Linked DNA regions of Homo sapiens: regions 2 and 3 are each linked to region 1. The links are contacts of gene promoters, found by promoter capture Hi-C in human tissues and cell types (Jung and others, 2019). All regions are on one chromosome and are shown on one strand. The core of a region is centred on a gene start or on the middle of the fragment in contact, and the rest is flanking DNA. Distances in the headings are between cores, read along the strand shown.

Evidence for each region. The method cuts DNA at HindIII sites, captures the fragments that hold promoters and counts their contacts. A contact is called where the count stands out against the background at its distance.
Region 2: a contact is called between the fragment with the promoter of DNASE1L2 here and the fragment with the promoter of CCNF in region 1, in 5 of the 25 tissues and cell types used here (H1 embryonic stem cells, bladder, heart left ventricle and 2 more).
Region 3: the fragment with the promoter of CASKIN1 here is called in contact with the fragment with the promoter of CCNF in region 1 in 4 of the 25 tissues and cell types used here (H1 embryonic stem cells, lymphoblastoid cells, mesendoderm cells and 1 more).

What each region holds. Positions count from the first base shown.
Region 1 is chr16:2,428,184-2,430,883 of GRCh38, reverse strand. It overlaps CCNF (cyclin F), which reads right to left and starts at 1,437. Exons shown (of 17, transcript NM_001761.3): 1 at 1,387-1,437. The coding sequence starts at 1,402. RefSeq lists silencers at 1,062-1,111, 1,122-1,971 and enhancers at 2,182-2,361, 1,797-2,376. The HindIII fragment of the contact is 14,340 bases long and covers 1-2,700 here.
Region 2 is chr16:2,235,026-2,237,725 of GRCh38, reverse strand. DNASE1L2 (deoxyribonuclease 1 like 2) reads right to left here and starts at 1,282. Exons shown (of 7, transcript NM_001374.3): 1 at 1,166-1,282; 2 at 766-948; 3 at 600-688; 4 at 425-508; 5 at 77-350. The coding sequence starts at 909. It overlaps E4F1 (E4F transcription factor 1), which reads right to left. Exons shown (of 14, transcript NM_004424.5): 13 at 2,583-2,645; 14 at 1,984-2,510. The coding sequence ends at 2,154. The HindIII fragment of the contact is 25,906 bases long and covers 1-2,700 here.
Region 3 is chr16:2,195,241-2,197,940 of GRCh38, reverse strand. CASKIN1 (CASK interacting protein 1) reads left to right here and starts at 1,336. Exons shown (of 20, transcript NM_020764.4): 1 at 1,336-1,602. The coding sequence starts at 1,509. The HindIII fragment of the contact is 36,898 bases long and covers 1-2,700 here.

The DNA of each region.
Region 1 (2,700 bases), core at 188-2,687:
GCATGTCATGTAACTTGGCTATTGGGAAACTTTCTGATCCAGAGCCCACATGACAGGCAGGAAGGGGAAAAAGCTGCCGAAGCTGAGGACGGTTTTCCTTCTATTTCACTCTCAGGAAAACTCCTGGGGCCTTTGCTGGATAGCTTTGCTTTTTGCACACGTGACCAAGGTGCATAATGTTCAATAAAGATCTGTGGGCTTGAAGAGTCTGGTTTTCAAGTCCAAATTAGAAGGGTCGGCCCTGGAGAGAAGCCACAGACTTGGAGGCCGGGGCAGTGTGCGTCCAAGTCTCAGCTCTGCAGAGTCTCAGTGTGCCCTCTATTGTAGAATGCGGAGTTGACAGCTACGCAGTAAGGTTGTTGCTCAGGTCCCAACACAAACCTAGACCTGTAGGTTTGTGTACAGATGCAATCATTAAAGGTGAGACGGGCATTCCACCCACCAGGCAGGCAGCCCGGACATGCTTCTCAGATGTGCTCTCTCCTCTTCCCACAGCCGGATTTTCCAACTCCTACTCCAGCAACCCCTTCCTCACTCTAAGCAGATGACCTTAGCCCTTATTTCACAGGGAAACAGAAGCCCTCAGACAGGAACCTCAGGATCCTGCCTCCCCATCTACAAATCTACCTTTCTATCCATCCTTCCTTCCAGTCCTGAAAGGAAGCGCCACTCCCCTCTGTGGGCCCAAATCCCTCCCCGCCTTGCTAGGACTTCCTAGCGATTGCTCCCGGCTCCCCTCTCTTGACCGGGGTCTTCCTGTTAGCAATTAAATCAGCTGCAAAAGCCAAACGTATTCCAGGGCGACGAATTCTCAAAGATTCTATAGACCTCTCCATAAAATATTCCTCATTCTCCGGCTCCAGGACAGATACTATGATAATAGCTGAAACCACAGTTCGTGTTTCCTGTGCCTCAACGCGCGCGGGGCCGAACGCTGCTTTCCACAGAGCTAGGTCCACGGCCCCGCTGGACTGAGGCTCGGTCAGGGCCCGGCCGGGCTGCGGGATCGCTTCGCCCCCACGCGCTCCGCAGCCCTTTCCCCGACCAGGAGGCGCTGGTGTTTGGCTCCCCGAGACCCGATCGCCGCCCCGGGACCCGATCGCCGGATCGCTGCCCCGGGACCCGATCGTTGCCCCAGGAAAGGGCCGGAAAACGTCGCCGCGGGGGAAGGCTCCGAGGGGCTCGGGCGCCCGCCGGGCATTTAAACCGCGCGCCCGGCCGCCGGGGCTCCCTGCGCGGGACGCGACATCCGCCCCGGGTTAAAGAGCTCGAGCCAGCCCTCTTCAGGCCGCCAGGGCCTCCCCTCCCGCGGGACCCACCGTCCGCCCCGCAGGGCAGGCAGAAGGGGTGTGGGGCAGAAACCAGCGGACATCGCCCCGCACTCACCGCCGCCGCTCCCCATCGCCGCGCTCGCGTCGCTGCCGCCGGAGCCCGCCTGAGAGCGCGCCCGCGCCCCGGCCGGAGCGCGCGTAGCCCTCGCGCAGGCGCAGACCCCGCCCCGCCGCCCACCCCAGTTTTCAAACGCACCCGGCCCTCCCATTGGCCTGCCCGGGGGGGCCGCCGCCGGCCCCGCCCATGTCCCGCCCTGTGCTCGCCTCATTTACCGCCCTCCACGCCCTCCCCGCCTGCTCCGGGACCCGCCATTGGCCGCGCCAGGACGCGAATTCGAACATTGGCCGCTGATTGGTGGAACCCGCGTGGCCGCCCCGCCTCCCCAACGGGGCTGGGGTCCCGTAGGAGCGCTTCCCGGCCGGCGGGCAGGGGTTTGTGGGCGTCCCCTCCCGGCCGCATGGGTTCGGGCTTCGCCGCTGACCCCGGCGACCGGCATCTGCGGTGCCAGATGGGCTGCGAAGGCGCACGCCTGCGGCCAGGGGAAAGAGGACTCCTTGGCGTCCCTCGCAGTCGCGGCCGTGATCCAGCCTGGGACAGCCTCGACGTGGCGCTTCTAAGACGAGGCCGTGCCCTGCCCGGGTCCCGGGGTCGCTCCTGGGCCCGCGACCCTCACCCCCAGCTTGCACGGCCTTCCCTTCCGCCGCCTGCTTCAGGTGGAGACCCTTGGGTTTGTGGCTGAGCCGCTGCTGGGCGGGGATGCTGGCCGGGATCGTGGTAGAGAAAGAGGAGGTCGGAGCTGACGCTGGGAAGTCTCCCCCGCGGAACGCTGACCCCTTCTTCCCGCGAAACGTGGCGCACCCTGGACGCCTCAGTGCTCCAGCCCCGGGGCAAGCCCTCCCCATCACTTTGGCCAGATGCTGCCCCCTGTCTGGCCTCCTCGGCTGCTACCTGGAGCTGCTCGCCGCGGGAAGTGTCGTATCTGCTCACTCTTGTCTTGGGCAGTGCCCATCTGAGCTGTCCTTCAGGAGTCAGCCACACCGCACCCCTTTTACGGCACAGGCTGTCAAGGGGAAGACTCGCAGCCTCCTGACTGTCTGGTGGAGGACAGAGGGGGCTTTTCCTGGGGAAGGCAGGGGCCTGGGCCAAGGCTGCCCACCCCTCCCTCACGCTTCCCTCAGTCTGCACCCTTCCATCCTTCCGGGTCCCCATAGAACTCCTTCAAGTACTGGGCCTGCCCTGGGCACACAGACAGGAGCCCTGGCGTGCAGGCTTCAGCCGGCCTGGGGCAAGAGACAGAGTAAACAGGTGATCACAGCACAGGGTACAGAAGAGTCCGTGGCCCCAGAGAGGGTCTGGAAGTTGGGAATA
Region 2 (2,700 bases), core at 33-2,532, 190 kb after region 1:
CGTCGAGGTCCCGCCCTCATGAACCAGACCCCCGGGGCGCGCCTGCAGGGACCCCGGGACCGAGGGGTGGGCTTACGTCGGTGCCCCACTTGTCGATCACGTCCAGGTACACGTCGTAGAGCGCGTCGATCTCCGCCACGGCTTGATGCGGCGCCGCGTGCAGCGGGATCAGCACCAGGTTCTGTGCTGCTGCGGGAAGGGGTGGGGGCGTCAGAGCTCGGCGGGAGGGGAGGGGCGGGGCCCGCTCACCGGTGCCGGGGGCCGAGAACTTGACCACGAAGGGCTCGCGGCTGAAGACGTCCTCGGGGTCTGGGTACAGGTAGGTGTCCACGACCGACACCGCGTCTTTCCTAGGAGATGGGGAGGACCCGCTGAGCCCCCGACCTGCGGCCCCGCGCGCCCCTCCCTGCGGCCCGCCCCTCACCTGTACACGAACAGGTACATCTCCTTGTACTGGTCCCGGCCCAGGGGCTGGCTGCTCACAAAGCTGTACTCGTGCTCGGACACGCTGCGGAGACAGGGGCCCGCTCAGGGTCGGGGCGCCGCGCCGGGGCGAGATCCCGGCGGGGGGTCGCGACGAGGGGCCCTGCCCACCACACCTGTTGATCTGCTCCATGAGCGCGGACACGGCGCTGAGGTCTGGGTCTCGCACCTCCTGCACCAGCGCGAGGTCATAGCCAGCCAGGATCTGGGGAGGAGCGGCGGGTGCGGGGGTCAGCGCGGTCAGCACCCCTAAACGCCGCCCCGCCCCGGCCCGGGCCCCACCTTCGCGATGATGCTGCCGCAAGCGGGGTCCGACACTTTGCTGTCACCGAAGCTCTGAATGTTGAAGGCTCCGATGCGAAGCGCGGCGGTCCCGGCGGCTTCCAGCGCCCAGAGTGCGGCCAGCAGAGCCCGGGGCCCGCCCATGGCGCGGAGCGAGAGGCTGGGAGGGACAGACGCTGCCGCCTACGCAGACCCGCTGTCAGACCCACCGACCCACCCCTTCCCTCCGCGGCCGCCCCTTGACGGCCAGTGCGACGCGGAATCCGCCCCTGCGTTCTGCAGGCTCCCAGGGCACTGCTGGGCTCTCAGGGACCGCTGCCTTCTCACTGCGCGGGAAGCTGCAGCCGGAATGGAGGGTCCGGCCCATCCAGCCCCAGCTCAGGGCAGCCGAGAGACTCACCTTGGATGTGGGTGCAGAGGCCCGAGGCTCAGAGATCCTAGGGGGATGGGGATCCCGGGTCCAGGCTGCGGGCGTGTCCGACACAGGACTGCACTGACTCCCTCTGGCAGTAGCTCTGGCACCAAGGCAGGGGCCGGTATTTGAGGTCCTGGGCCAGGGAGGGGCCGGGCTGCACTGGGTCCCGCCCCCTCGACTCAGCTGGGTGCCTGATGAACTCCTGGCTTTCATTCCCATGGAGACCCCCAGGGTAAGGGGTGGGAGACCTGCCTGAGCCGGTTCTGGTGCCCCAGACCTGTCCCAAAACCGTCCCAGAAGCCCCTGCCAGCCCCCTAGGAGGGAGGTAGACGGTCAGCCACATCCCGGTGCGGCTGTGTTCTTGTCCTCGCCCCTAGAAATTAGGTCGCCTAGACTCTGCCTCCCTGAGCAGAATCCCTTCAGGGAAAGCAAGGCAGCGCAGGTAGGACCAGCCACACTCCCTACCCAGCATCTCCTGCTGCTGCTCCACCTGCTCACCCTGCGGTGGAGGCCGAGGCTCCCAGATCTCCCTGTCCCCGTCCCTGGTCCTCCCACCCACCCACAGGCCTCAGGCAGCGCAGCTGGGGGCACAGCTCCAGCTGGGCAGGGCAGGAGGCTGTTGGTCAACATGCCAATGACACCCACACAGCACCAAGGCGCCGCCAGGGCTGGCAGAAGCCCCTGGGTGGGGCGGCCAGGCACGTGAGTCTAGGAGTGGCCTGGGAGGCAGGTGCTGCTGCGGGGGCCTGGGCAAAGGTGGTGGCACCAGCCGCGGAGGCTGCCACTGCCACAACATCACAAGCTGCAGGTTCTCATGTTTTATTGTAAAGCAACAAGAAACTCTTATGTACACTGTCCGTCTTGGGGCGCCTCCATCCTGTGCCATCTTCTCTACCAGGCCAGGCAGGCATGGGTGGGGCGCTCAGAGTCCTCTGCCCTGTCCCTGCCCGGCCAGGACCCCGCAGACCTCATGCTAGACGATGACCGTCTGCACCTCCAGCTGGCCCTCCGGCGAGGCGATGACCAGCTCGCCTGCATGCTCCAGGATCTCGATGTCCTCTGATGACACCATGGTCACAGTGGCCTGTTCAGTGCCACTTGTCCCTGCCCGGGCGGCAAGCACAGTGCCCTCGCTGATGGCCGAGGCCAGCGTCATGGCCACCTGCTCTGTCAGGCTCTCGGGGGTGGCGATGGTGATGGTGTCGGCGGCAGCCGCCTCTGGGCCCAGCGCCGTCTCCTCGTCCATGGTGACGTTCTGCACGATGATCTGGTGGCCGGCGCTAGCCTGGTGCACGATCTGCTGCACCACCTTCATGATGTGGCTGTCCACCTGCAGGGCCACGGCTCAGCAAGAGCGGCTGTGCCAGGGAGCCTCCCCGCCCCCGCCTGCCCTACCCCTCACCTCTGTCTGGGTGCCCTCGATGATCTCCGTGGCCTCACTGGTCTCCGCATCGTCCGCAGTGGCCTGGGCAGATGGGCAGAAGGACAGAGGTCAGCCTTGGCTGCCCCTGGGTCCCAGC
Region 3 (2,700 bases), core at 87-2,586, 230 kb after region 1:
GGACAGTGAGTCCAACCTCATCTAGGAGGTGACCAGCACAGTGCCTGACCCAGCGGGTACTCAACTGGTCATTGGAAAGGGCAAGAGGAAAGGCCCTAGCATTTGGGGACCCCTCCCAGGAGTGCTGGAAGACCAAGGGCTGCTACCTGAACCTAACAGGAGACCCCACGGAGGGAACGGGAACGGCCAGCTGCCCACAGGATGCCGGGACCCCGGTGCCTGTCACCTTCCCTGTCCCTGCTGTCTGACCTCCTCTGTCCCCCTGGACCTGCTCAATGGTCTGGGGCCACACAGAGTGGGGTGCCAGGCCATGCCTCATAGAATGGGTGCGACCCTCCCCAAATTCTCCAAACGGCCTTGCCCGCTTGGGTGATGAGGGAAACGGAGCCTGAGTCGGGACTCAGACCCCCACTGATCTGCCTCTAGAATGCTGCAGGCCTGACGGGAGAGGGCCTGAGGCGCAGGGTGGCCCAAGCCTTCAGCCAGGAGCTCAGAGGGTCACAAGTCGGGGCCTCCAGCACCCAGGAAGCAGGACTCGCCTGCCTGGGCTGCAGGCTGGAGAGTGGGCAGACGTGGGCCGGGGGTCGGTTGGTGCCGGCGGGAGGTTCCAGCCCCTGTGGATGGAGATGGAGGCGACCCCCAGTCGGTGCGGGGAGTGGGGAGTTGAGCTCCCTCAGTGGGGGTGGTGGGGGCTACCTTGGGGTCAGGCTTCGGACTGAGGCTGGGGGAAGCTGTGGCGCCCGCATTATTTGCGGAGAGGAGCAGGAGGATGCTTGGGGGTTGGGGGTGCGGGTTCCCTGACACCGAATTCATTATTGGGAGATTCCTCTTCACAATCCCTCGACACCTCCCACGGGAACCCTGGGCCAGGAACGCCTGACAGCCTGGCGGGCCGGCTCCAGGGGCACTGGCGCCCGGGTCTCTCGGCGCCCGGTCCCCGCCCGCCCGCTGCCTCGGAACCGTCCCCCGCGGGTCCCGCAGCCTCTGGAAGCCTCTCTGGGCTCAGCCCCGCGCCGCCGCCGCGTCGGGGCTCCCAGTGCACCCCCGGCGGCCGCGTCCCCAGCCCGGCTAGCAGCCCCAGGCCGCCCGCGTCCGCAGAGGCCTGGCCTGAGCGCGCTGCGCGCACGTGGGGAGGGGGCGTCCCGGGGCGGGCGCGGGGAGGGCGGAGCCACGGGCCCGGGCGCGCGGCCGGCGCGGGCTGACGGAGGTCGGCGGCCCGGGAGCGGACCCCGGCGTCCGGGAGGCGGCGCCAGGTGCCGCGCCCCCGCCCCGCGCCCGCCGCGCGCCCCCGCCCCCGGGCCGCCCCCCGCCCGTGACGCGCTCCCCGCCCCCTCCGCGCCGGGAGCCCGAGCCCAAGCCGGAGCCCGAGGAGGGCGAAGGGGCGGCGGGCGGCGAGGAGGCGGCGGGGGAGGCGGCGGGGGAGGCGGCCGGTGCCGCGGGGCCGCCGCCGCCTCTGAGCCGCGCCGAGCTCACGAGCGCAGCCGCGTCGCTGCGGCCCCGGCCGCGCCATGGGGAAGGAGCAGGAGCTGGTGCAGGCGGTGAAGGCGGAGGACGTAGGGACCGCGCAGAGGCTGCTGCAGAGGCCGCGGCCCGGGAAGGCCAGTGAGTGCCGGGGGCGCGGGGCGCGGGTGGGAGCCCCGGGGGCCCCTCCCCGGCGCGGAGCCCCCCACCCGGCGCCGGGCGGGGAGGGGACGTTGTCGGGTCCCCGGGGGCGGGGCGGGGCCAGCAGCGCCCAGACCCTTGGTCCGTGCCCTCCACCCGCTGCCCCCAGCACTGGAGATGGGGCGGCCCCGAGAGCCGGCCGCCACCGTGAGCCCCGCAGCGGGCACCTGGCGGCACCCGCCTCCCGGGCCGCGGGCGTTCGCATCCCTCTCTCTCTACCTCTGTCCCCCTCCCTTCCCAGGCTGCGGGCTGACAGCTGGAGGTCTCTGCTGGGGCCTTCAAAGGGCGAGGCGGATGCCCCCCCCACCCACCACACGCACCGGGAAGACAGGGAGGGGGCCCCTGCGGCGAGGGGCGACCCGGGAGGTGACAGTCCCTAGCAGACCCCCTCCCGCCCCACGTTTAATAACACGCTTTGCAGGGAAGGTGGGGGCAGGACCACGCTGGGGGTGTGGCTGCCCTGGCATGGCCGGTGGGGTGCCATTTACTGATGGGAGAGCAGAGGCCCAAGGTCGCCCAGCCCAGGGCAGGCTGGACTCCAGGCAGGGCCGGCCTGGGCGCAAGGGCTTGGGGCCCTGCTCAGGCAGGCTCCAGCAGAGCCGGGTCTCCAGCTTCCCTGCTGGGAAAGGAGGCCATGAGGGAGTGGGGGACCACCACTGGCCATCCCCAGCTTGCCCTATGGCCGGCCCCAGGAAAGGGCTGGGAGCTTGGAGCCCTGGTCCCAGCACTCATCCTGGCTCAGCGCGTAGCCTCCCTGGGGGCCGCCGGAGATGGATGGATGGGCGTGTGGACCAGCCGCGTGTGCGGCTGCGCACGTATAGCCGTGTCAGTGTGTCAGGGCACCTGTGCGGGCACGGACAGGGCTCTGCAGGTCGGCACGTGGGGTCTGGGCGTCCTCCCTCCTCCCTCCACCCCCACAGACTGTAAGCCAGAGAGTCCCCCTCCCCTTCCTCCAGGGGGATGCCGAGAACTGGGACTGGCTTCTGGGAGATTGTTGGGGGCACCTAGGAGTCCCAGGAGGACCCCCTCCCCCGTACT